2 separate regions of the Homo sapiens genome follow, and region 1 is linked to region 2. Evidence: promoter capture Hi-C in human tissues and cell types (Jung and others, 2019). All regions are on one chromosome and are shown on one strand. Each heading gives the region's core, a stretch centred on a gene start or on the middle of the fragment in contact. The rest is flanking DNA. Distances are from core to core; before and after follow the strand shown. Region 1 overlaps KLHL32 (kelch like family member 32). Region 2 holds the start of KLHL32 (kelch like family member 32).

Region 1 (5,072 bases), core at 716-3,215, 100 kb after region 2:
ACTCCTCTAGATAGCTACATGACTTCCTTCCTTGCCCTCTGCAGGTCTTTGCTCAAATACTGTATTACCTTCTCAGAAAGGAGGACTCTAATTTTACCTGTGATAACACCTAATTTTTTTTTTTTTTTTGAGATGGAGTTTCACTCTTGTTGCCCAGGCTGGAGTGCAGTGGTGCGATCTCAACTCACTGCAATCTCCGTCTCCCAGGTTCAAGCGATTCTCCTGCCTCAGCTTTCCAAGTAGCTGGGATTACAGGCGCCTGCCACCACACCTGGCTAATTTTTGTATTTTTAGTAGAGATGGGGTTTCATCATGTTGGCCAGGCTGGTCTCGAACTCCTGACCTCAGGTGATCCATTGGCCTCAGCCTCCCAAAGTGCTGGGATTATAGGCATGAGCCATGGCGCCCAGCCCTGATCACCTAATTTTTAAAGAAGACTTGTATTAGTTCATTTTCATACTGCTATAAAGAAATACCTGAGACTGGGTAATTTATAAAGGAAAGAGTTTTAATTGACTTACAGTTCCACATGGCTGGGGAGGCCTCAGGAAACTTACAATCATGGCATAAGGCGAAGAGGAGGCAAGCACTTTCTTCACAAGGTGGTAGGAGCGAGAAGAGAGCAGGGGAAACTGCCACTTATAAAACCATCAGATATCATGAGAACTCACTGACTGTCATGAGAACATCATGGGGGAAACCGTCTCCACAATCCAATCACCTCCCACCAGGTCTCTCCCTTGACATGTGGGGATTATGAGGATTACAATTTGAGATGAGATTTAAGTGGGGACAGAGATCCAAACCATATCAACTATATTCATATATTACTAAATACATATAATTTAGAAATTGTAAAGACAAAAAAGCCACAATTTAGGTTTTTTAAAACATTTGAAGGCATAGGACTGGTTAGCAAAAGATCTTTCCCCTCTGGGGTTTTGGATCATATTTTTTCAGCATTGACAATCTATAAACTATAAGCTGACAATCTATAAACTGAATTTATAGATACACTTGTAAATATAAAACTGATCAGTGTAACTTCTTTCAATTTCACAAGTAAAACTGATTTTCTTTAAAACTAAATATATATTTTTTGTTTTTATCCTTACAGAAGCTGCTGTGGGGGTGGGAAACACAAGGGTCACTGTCTCTGTTTTCTTTCTACACATGACAGTATGGCATTACTGATGCTGAGATTCATTTAAAATCCAGGGCAACAAGGATTGTACCCATTCCTTAACGTAGAATTTCTTGAATTCTTAGTGGATGCATACTGCTGAAATGGAGATTTAATTGTAAGTCCCAAAGACTTGTCACCCAGCAGGCTTTTCACTGTTTTCTCAGATCCAGCTGGCCTAGTTCTACATGGATAGTATCACCTGAAGCCACTAGAGAACTAGGGGCCAGGAAAATCCTTGGCTAACTAATTGGGAACCTAATGTGGTAACTGTGGTCTCTCTTCTCTTCAACTTGTAACTCTCTGGAGATATTAGAATCTGGTTCAGAAGAGAGTCCTGAAAAGCTGCAATAGGCTCTTCTTGTCTTGTCCTAAAGCAATTGTGACTTTTGAAAAATGTGTGAAAAAATATAGTCCAAGGAGCTGTAGAAATTGACAAAAAATCATCCAGAGATGAAAATGTGCTTAATTTGTCACCTAAATCATATTATACTGTTGTCTGTGAGTAGAAGTTGGCATTGTCCACTTTGTGTCTGATGATTAATCATTTAGGTAGTATCTGTTAGGAAGAGGACTCAAGAAATAGCTTCTAATTTTAGTCAGAAAAAGTAGCACTATTAATAGCGGCCTTGACATTCTGCAAAGCCAAATTAAGCAGTCAACCTGGCATTTTATAAACGGGCTGTTACAGAGCCTCACATCTGGTAGATATTCGATAAGCATTAATTGCCTGGCTGACTATGAGCAGCCACATAGCTGCTGTAATAGAGTCTGCACATGGTGGTGGGATAAGGCTGATTCTGATGTACTGTGGGACAGGACCTTGTGAACATGAAGAAGTATGTGGGTTTTTGTTGTTGCTTTTTTTTTTTTTCAAATTAAATGACTTCATAATTTCCTTTTGAAACTGAGCACATTTCATTAAAAATGGATTTCCTTTTGTCAATTCAAGGTAAGTTACCAGGTAACAGTGATATTGGTCAAATGTTACCTCTTTTTTAAATAGAAAGCTGAGAGCCTTCTAAAGAGCCATCATCATATTCTTCTTTAAAATTATTTGAATCAATGCCAGAGAAATTGTTAACATTTCAGTCATTCATTTAATTTTCATTATCGCGTTTATAATTAGTTCATTGTCTTCATTATAGTGAATGGATGGATAATGGTGAAGTCTGGTCTACATTTTATTCTTTTATTTAAACTGATTCACATCTAGTAAATGTAAGTATTATGAAGCTAGAAAAATAGTTTTAAAGTAATAATAATAGCTAACATTTTTTATCATTTACACTGTGACAGTCATTGTGCTAAGCCCCTTTATATGTATTTGTTTCAAATATATATTGAAATATCACTTTATTTTTCTGCCATATCTTTTCTATGCTTTTAAGATTATAACTTTTATGCTGTTTTATTTAAAGTAAAATTTGCATTCATGCTTATTTGATCTCAGGTATACGGTCAACCTCAGCTTCATCCAAAAGAAGACCACATGTTTAAAGGATAATAAAGCTGATGGAATTTTTAAACTCTTAAAAATTAGTGTTGAGCGAAGGCAGATGTTTTACAAAAGAGGAGAAGACATCTGATCCTGTGAGCCTGATGAATTGGTATAAAGAATTATTGGAATCTGTAGAAATGCCATGATTCTGTTTATCGTCTTTGTAAAAATCTGATTTGGAACGAATTGTCCATAGAGTGGGATGATCCAGCTGCTTGTTGAATCGGTTGCTTTTCATTAGCCCATCTGATGTTGACTGCATTCTGGGCTTGCATGCCTGAACTCCTGAAAGATTGAATTATCAGTATGCTTCTCACTCAGAGAGCTGTGACTCTAATGAGAGATTTTCATATCAAATCATTCATATCACTTTATAATCACAATACAAGTATTAGATGCTTTCTGATCCTGCTACAATTATGGGAATTAGCTAACTTCATGTGAAATTCCAGTAATAGATATGAATGCATTTCTCAGGTAGGCAATGAATATTCATCCTTCTGAGGTCAACTGTGGTTTGAAGAAGTGGAGGAGAGGAGGTCTGTAAGTCTAAACACAGCCTGATTCTGTTTGTCTTTCTTTGAATTGAAGGGCCTACCAGTTTCCCAGTTTATCTGGCAGTCTTTCCAACTTGAGAGGGAGGCACCTGAGTAGGCACAGAAGAATGGTGGTGAAGGCATGGGTTCAAGTCCCGACTCTCCCTCTTACCAGCTTTATCGCCTTGAACCGTTTGCTTAATTTCACTGGGTCTCATTTTCTCATGTTTAAAATGAGGTAATAGTAGTACCTGACTTCACAGAGTTGTGAAAATAAAACTTTAATTCAAGTAGGACTCTGACACAGGGCCTGCCACATGGTAAAAGCTGGGTAAACATGAGTTGCTATTGTCATTGTTCTCATTATCACACCAGAGCTATAGGGAGGCCCTAGAAGAAAAAACTATTTATCTTTCTTTTAATGATGGAGCAAAGCTCATTTCACCCAAGAGAAAATGAAGATCAAGATGGGTAATATGTAAAATATAATTATATAAATTTTGAGAAATAAATACATTATATATATATAAATGTTCATAGGATTAAAAGAAGTCCATCTAATTATTTTTTAAAAGGTGTTTGAAAGCTTGTGGATGATTCCTAAACCCTTTTGTTTCCCCATTTTTATAAGATGTAGAGACTTTGTGTTAGCCTGCATGGACAAAGCATCAAATGTGTTTGCAGAAAAAGTGAGCTTGATGGGAGGATTGCTTGAGCCCAGGAGTTCGAGGTTGCAGTGAGCTATGATCATGTCACTGTACCCTAGCCTGGGTGACAAAGTAAGACCCTGTCTCAAAAAAAAAAAAATTAACTCGAACATTTGGGAAGACTTGAACTCTTCATATTCATTGAGCTGACCTGTTCTTAGATTAGGAAGGTGCCAGGGAAATGGTTGCTTAGCAACTAATGGGGTTAAATGAAACAGTCTGTTAGCTGGGCTCTTGCCCTGTCTGTGTGCATGCCTAATAAAGGAGATGGTCTCCAGTGGGTATTGCTTGACTCACAGCTGTCAAACAAAAGTGATGAATAAAATGCAAGATCGAAGGGAGGGTCCACACCTGGACTGGGCATCTATATTTATGGTCATATACCTTCCTTTATGTTAGATGTTGAAGAAAAAGTTATTAAGAGAGGACATTAAAAATAAGAGAGGGACTGTTGAAATTGAGGGTTAAAATTTTAAGAGCGATCATTAGTTTACATTGAGTTTTAAGAGACTAAGATAATAAGTGATAACTGAGGAAATTCCACACTATTATCTTCAACATTCTTCTAAAAAATTCTCTATAGAAAAGGGATAACAGGGCTGGGCGTAGTGGCTTACACCTGTATTCCCAGCACTTTGGGAGGCCGAGGCAGGTGGATCATGAGGTCAGGAATTCGAGACCAGCCCGGCCAATGTGGTGAAACCCTGTCTCTACTAAAAATACAAAAACCAGCTGGGCGTGGTGGCGTGCACCTGTAGTCCCAGCTACTCGGGAGGCTGAGGCAGGAGAATCACTTGAACCGAGGAGGCAGAGGTTGCAGTGAGCCGAGATTGCGCCACTGCACTCCAGCCTGGGCAACAGAGGGAGATTCCCTCTCAAAAAAAAAAAAAAAAGAAAAAGAAAAGGGATAACAGATCTTATGGATGACATTGTGAATTCTAGGACAGAAATTGTGTGTTTTAGTACTTGTCTGCTCCTGGTCCCTATTTATACCCATGACAGACATTATGACTAGATCCTGACCACTCTCACTTGAGCTGGATGTGGCTTACAGCCCTCAACGGGGCTGCAGGAAGCCATTACCAATATCAGATTGGGCAGGTAAGAAACTTCCATGTCATTCTTTATGACAAATTGAAACTTGT
Region 2 (5,701 bases), core at 2,707-5,206:
AGTTCTCTCTGTCCCTGTCTCTCTTCTCCCTTCTCCCTCCCCTTTTCTCTCTCAAATATTACCAAGCTATCATGAGTATCCTTTCACATAAGTCTTTGAACTTTTGTTTGAGGTAACCCTAGGATGAATTCTTAGAATTGGAATTACTGGACCAAAAAGTATGAGCTTTTAAGAAAAAAATAATGAATGTAAATATTGACAAGTTGTTTTCCAAAATATTTTTTTGACTTGGATTCTCATAAGCTCTTCTTTACCCATATTCTCTGTAGCACTAGGTATTGTAATCTTTTTATAATCTTTGCCAATCTGATACATGAAAATTACAATTTATTTTTAAATCTGCCTTATCTTAATGATGACTAAGAATCCTCTTTATATTTTGTTGAACCTATTTAATTATGTAATTACGATATTCTTTCTTACAGTTAGGGGCTATTTTCTATTCAGCACTGTAAATTTTTACAAAGCTCCCATCATGTGACTAGTTGATTATGTTGAATTAGACTGAAAACAACAACAGCATTTGATATCACAGAATGTGGCAGAGAAAATGTAAACATGAAATAGTTTAACAGTAAAAAGTTTCCTGTGGCACTAGTTTTGAGTTACACTGGCGCTGGCTCCTGATGAATAGGATGAATTAGCTACAAAATGTACCCATAGGTAATTGAGTAAAGCTAAGTGTTAGCTAGAGTTGTTTTGTGTTATCCACTTGAAAACTAGAGAACATCAGCCAAAAATCAATTTTGGTTTTGGCATAATTAATGCTGCTCTGTTCTCTTGAGTAGTACAGTAATTAGAAATATGGCTCAGTGATTCCTTAATGTCACTACTGGTTTGTGACAGAAAACCACGACACTGGCATTAAGAATGACAATTTCCTCCTTACTTGCTTCGGGAGGAGGCAGCTATCAGGAATTGAACAAAGAACTATGACATAGCTCTCTTTCATGATGTAGTTTTAGCTAGAAATCTGATCTGTGTAGAGACAGTTTCAAATCTGATTCTTCCAGAGCTGTTAGAATACAGACTTTATAAAAACTCACAGCACTAGATTTATGCTACCCTCCTATATCTTGGCTCATGGACAAGCTGATGATAGATGAAAAAAATGCTGCAGAAACTTGTGTTCCAAGATGCTTATCAAAGTATATTAAGAGGCAAGCTGAGAAAAACAAAAAAGTGTTACCTACTCAACCAAACTCTAGGATACTTGTTTAAGAAAGTGAAAGAGGTTTCTTTCGTGTAAGACCTCAGTCTTTAATATACCAATGTGACATGAACCTAGTTTTCAGTGTTTCCCCAACTCATTTGACCTGGCACCCAATTTCCTATAGTGAATATATGCTATTTTCCAGCCACCCAGTGTCCACTTTTCTTTTTATATCTAGTGGGGCTATGAGCAGGGGTCCCACACTACCACAACTGAGGGACAGGCCAATGCTCCAGGCTAAAACAACTGGAAGCTGCAGACTACAACTGGGAGTACAAAGAGCAATCAATTGGGACTCACCCATTTCAGCAATGGAAGACACCATCTCATAACATTCCTGTCCTGATATTATCCTGTTGTCACTGCTTCTGTGCCCTCTGGAGTTCTCCTGCTGGCTTTCTATCCTGGGTATCTAGCTAGGCTTCCCATCAATTCTTAGAGCTCCTGATATCCTTCTACTAAGTTCCTTCTTGCCTAAATTAGGCAGAGAGTTTTCAGTTGCAACCAAAGACTCACACTTTAAAAAAAAAAAATCTTCTTCAGCTCATCCCTCATAACATCACTAGATTGAAACAGGAACAATGTATATTTATTGACAACTAAAAGACCTACATGGATTATACCACCTAACACATTCTAGGAGCTCAAAAAATTGCTGAACAAATAATAAGTATTCCAAAAAACAGCTTTTGGGAAGTATTATTTTAAGTCATTTTCTTAATAAGGAGAAAGACTATATATAATGGTACCTAAGAGAGAAATGGTGCCTAACACCTAGTTGCTCCTCTAGGAGTGGAGTAAACTGCAACATATGTTTGTGTTGAATTTTGGTGGCTATTGAATAAACTAATGTCTCTTATTTTAGAGAAATAAAATACTTAAGACAAAATATAAACTTTAAATCAATACTAAGGAGCCATTTAGGAAAATCTTGCCCTCTCTGAACTAGACATTTTACTAGGCATTTACCATTTAAACCTCAACGCCATGTGTCAATGAACAATATTTAGTGAGCCGATACTATGTGGCAGACATTGTGCTAGGGCCAGGAGATACCCTGAGACACTCAGCTTGGGCAGTAAGAGACTCTTCCATAGTCACACAGATGGTGAGTTGGTGGTGTAAATATTCTTTTCCTGTGTAAATGCAATTATAGTCTTTGCTCTATTTAATTATACTAAATAAATAGCTGCTATTTATTCTAAACAGATAATCCAATCAATATAGATGGGCTTAAAATTTTAAGTATTCTCACTTTAGTGACAAACACCTTGGGGATCTTAAAGGACTGTTTTATTTATTGATACCAGTCACTGTCAATATTTTTGGTTCAAAGACGCTTTCATATTCGATTTTCTGATAGAAGACAACGCAATGAAAACTATCAAGTTGCTTATGAAAAATTCTTAGGATGACACTGCACCTAATGTTTGTAGTCAGTTGTTTGTCATTCTTTCCCTTGTCCTATGCTGTGTCCAGGACTGCTAGATAAGTAGGTACCCAGCATCCTAGCGTCCAGATATCAAAACCATGAAAATGAAGCACTACAAGCCAGACAGATAACCTCCAGAGGGAGCAAACGAATAAACCCCCAAATCCTGTGGATCTAGAAGTAGAAAATAATCGCTGAACCACTGATTTGAGACCAATGAGAACATTAAGGACACCTCAAAATAGATCAGGGCACTGTTCCTAGCCCAACTCTGTGGCAGAACATAAACCTGCAAGAAATAGGATTAACATACTATCTTTGCAGTAAGTTAAATCCTGAACTTCTACAAAATACAGTTTACTCCAATTTAGTTACACTCTTCCTGCTTCTGGTGTCTTACCTCCACGTTGGACTAAGGTTTTCAATTCGGTGGTGGAATACTTACCTATTAAAATTACCCACTTTGCTTTAGTGTGAGTTTCTCAGCATGTTTTACACAGGAGTGACCTGAATGACTCGGAAGTGGCACTTGAGTGTGCCAGGCCCTGGAATTTAATGGTATGGTTCTGTGGTTGTTGTCTGTTTGCGGTTTTATTGCTGAATTAGTAGTAACCACAGTAATCACACCCTTTCTCATTTCTCAGGCTTGGGGATTTCGTCCACCTCTGGCGGGTTGGTTCCCCTGACGTTTCTTAAAGTTACTGTGAATTTGTTCTGGTCAGTACCATAGAGTGTATTATCCTAAGGAGGGCCACTGTAGGGCCGCTAGGACTAGAGGCAACTTGAACTTCACAAGTTAGCAGAGCAAGGACTCCCTGGAACACCGAGTTAGGGCCACGGGGTCTGTTTGCTCAGATTGCCCGCCAGCCCTGGGAAAGGAGTCTGGGGGCGAGCAGGCTGGGTTCCCGGGTCTCAGTCGCCGCAGTGGTGGCTACAGACTGCGCATGTGACCCAGGGGCCGGCGACGCAGGTGCCGGAGAGCGAGGAGGAGGGCGGCGTGGAGGAGGGTACTTCCGGGACCGGCGGGCGCGCGCTGGCAGCTCGCCGACGGCGGGGGCGGGGGCGGGGGGCGGCAGGGGAGCGAGCGCGCTGGCGGCGGGCGGTGGCGTTGCGCGCGGGGTGGCGAAAGGATGTGCGCGGGATCGCGGGGGAGGGGGAGGGAGCGCGCGGGCTAGCTGGAGGCGGGAGGGGGCGGAGCCCTGTGGCGTCTGAACCCGCCCCGGGGGTGCCAAGGTGCGTCTCCAGTCTGACGCGACCGCCTGGGGCGGAGTCAGCGGGACGTGCCACCTGCAGTGCTGGCTAGGGCTTTTTATTTACTAGGGAGCAGTTTCCCCGCGCGACAGTTCGGGAGCGCGCAGGCAGTCGCGCGCACACACGCACGCAGGCACACACACACACACACACACACACACACACACACTTTCGCACACACAAACACGCTAGGACGCTCGTCTTCGCTACTGCATCCCCGAACCAGCAGAGCGAAGCTACTGCGGGTTCTGTTAACCTCAGCATCGTGGGGCGAAGCAGAGCCATTGTGCATCAAGGAGAGGCCGGTGCCTGCGCTGCCGTCTCTGGCACCTAACCCAGCAGACCGCTCACCCCATCGGGTAAGCCAGTCTCTCTCCTTGTAACCTGTTCTGCAGACCTGAGGAAGAGGGTGGGAGGCTGCTGGTGCGCCAAGTGGGGGCAGACCCGGAGTTGACATTTCAGGGGCTTGCAGCCCATGCAGCCTCTGCCCGTGTCGTCTAACGGGAGCAGCCACTACTCAGGTTACTTATGCTGCCAGCCCTGGAGTCGCTCCCCCTTTCTTCCCTCCCCCTGAGCCCAATATGTACTGTGCTCCTTGGTTGCCAAGGAGACTTGCTTAAACATCAGCCGTGGGACATCTATTGAAAGAACTGGTTTCTTAAATGATGCCGTTATTTATTTTGATATTTAAAATAAAATATACACTGAGGACCTTTCGTAATTTGGCATTTGTTAATCTGTATTCAGGTGGCGGTTTCATTCAACTTCAAGAAAAGCCGTAATTGCACTATATGGTATGCTTTAAAAAGGATTCGTCAGATGAATTTTTCAACGGATTGTGTCTTGAATCATAATTTACTCCCATTTTGGTGATCTTATAAAGAAAGATGACTGCAGTTTAGATCCCTTCTTCCCCTCTATTTCCAGTTTTATTTTGCAGTTCACTTAGTCGTGATTATTTTAAATTAAAAGCAGATGATTTAATTGTGTTTCCCCACACAAGAATGAGCTTCTATTGTAAATTGACCAGAACAGGAATACGTTTGTGAATTCGTAACGTAAGAAGGTAGCATTCATGACATACATCTTTGCTAGCATTTTTATATCCCCTGCATCAGTATTGAAGCGCAGTTTTTTGCACCTCTGCTCATTTCTGAGAAGATTCTGTTTTTTAAAAAATCTCTTATTGATTATTTTTAGATCTATCTCTATACACAGATAGAGATAGATATAAAATGTGTGCCATGGCTTACTAGAGCTTATATGAAAGTGCAGTGGTTTTTGCTTTTTGTTTTTTTTCTGATGGGACTGGGTCCTCTACTGGAACACTGATAGGCCAATGGAACAGGTCAGCCTAATACCTGGGCTGTCAGTTTTGTTTTATTTTGAGGTCTCGGGTGTCTATTGGGTGAACTTGTAACACAGTACTTGAAGGCATCAGCAATCCAGTAATTACACTTTGCACGAATTTCATGCCTCCATCACAAACAAATGGCCCAGTAAAGATCCACTGGCATTCAAGAATTAATTTTGTTTTCCTTGGATATTTGTTCATCTTTTCTACTTCTTGTTAAATGACCCAAGGAAATAAGTCAAATTCTTCTAATTTAGATTTTAAACTCTGTCATAGAGAGTGTAATAAATAATGTGAGGAGCAAGTAAGCCAAATAATGACAGAGGTAGATAGAGGGGATTTATGCAATTCACAGAGCTTTGGGAGATGAATGATGACAAACATTTTACATTACAGTGTAGAAAGCACTTTTCATATACTTCTTTTTTAATCCTCACAACAACCCTTTGAG

Evidence for each region. The method cuts DNA at HindIII sites, captures the fragments that hold promoters and counts their contacts. A contact is called where the count stands out against the background at its distance.
Region 1: a fragment that was not itself captured here is called in contact with the fragment with the promoter of KLHL32 in region 2 in 2 of the 25 tissues and cell types used here (hippocampus and liver).

Annotation. Positions count from the first base shown.
Region 1 is chr6:97,022,358-97,027,429 of GRCh38, forward strand. All of the region lies in intron 3 of KLHL32 (kelch like family member 32), which reads left to right. Among named protein-coding and RNA genes, the nearest start is that of KLHL32, 100 kb to the left of the region's middle. The HindIII fragment of the contact is 5,153 bases long and covers 1-4,542 here.
Region 2 is chr6:96,920,772-96,926,472 of GRCh38, forward strand. It overlaps KLHL32 (kelch like family member 32), which reads left to right and starts at 3,957. Exons shown (of 11, transcript NM_052904.4): 1 at 3,957-4,255. RefSeq lists a silencer at 3,684-3,993. The HindIII fragment of the contact is 13,841 bases long and covers 1-5,701 here.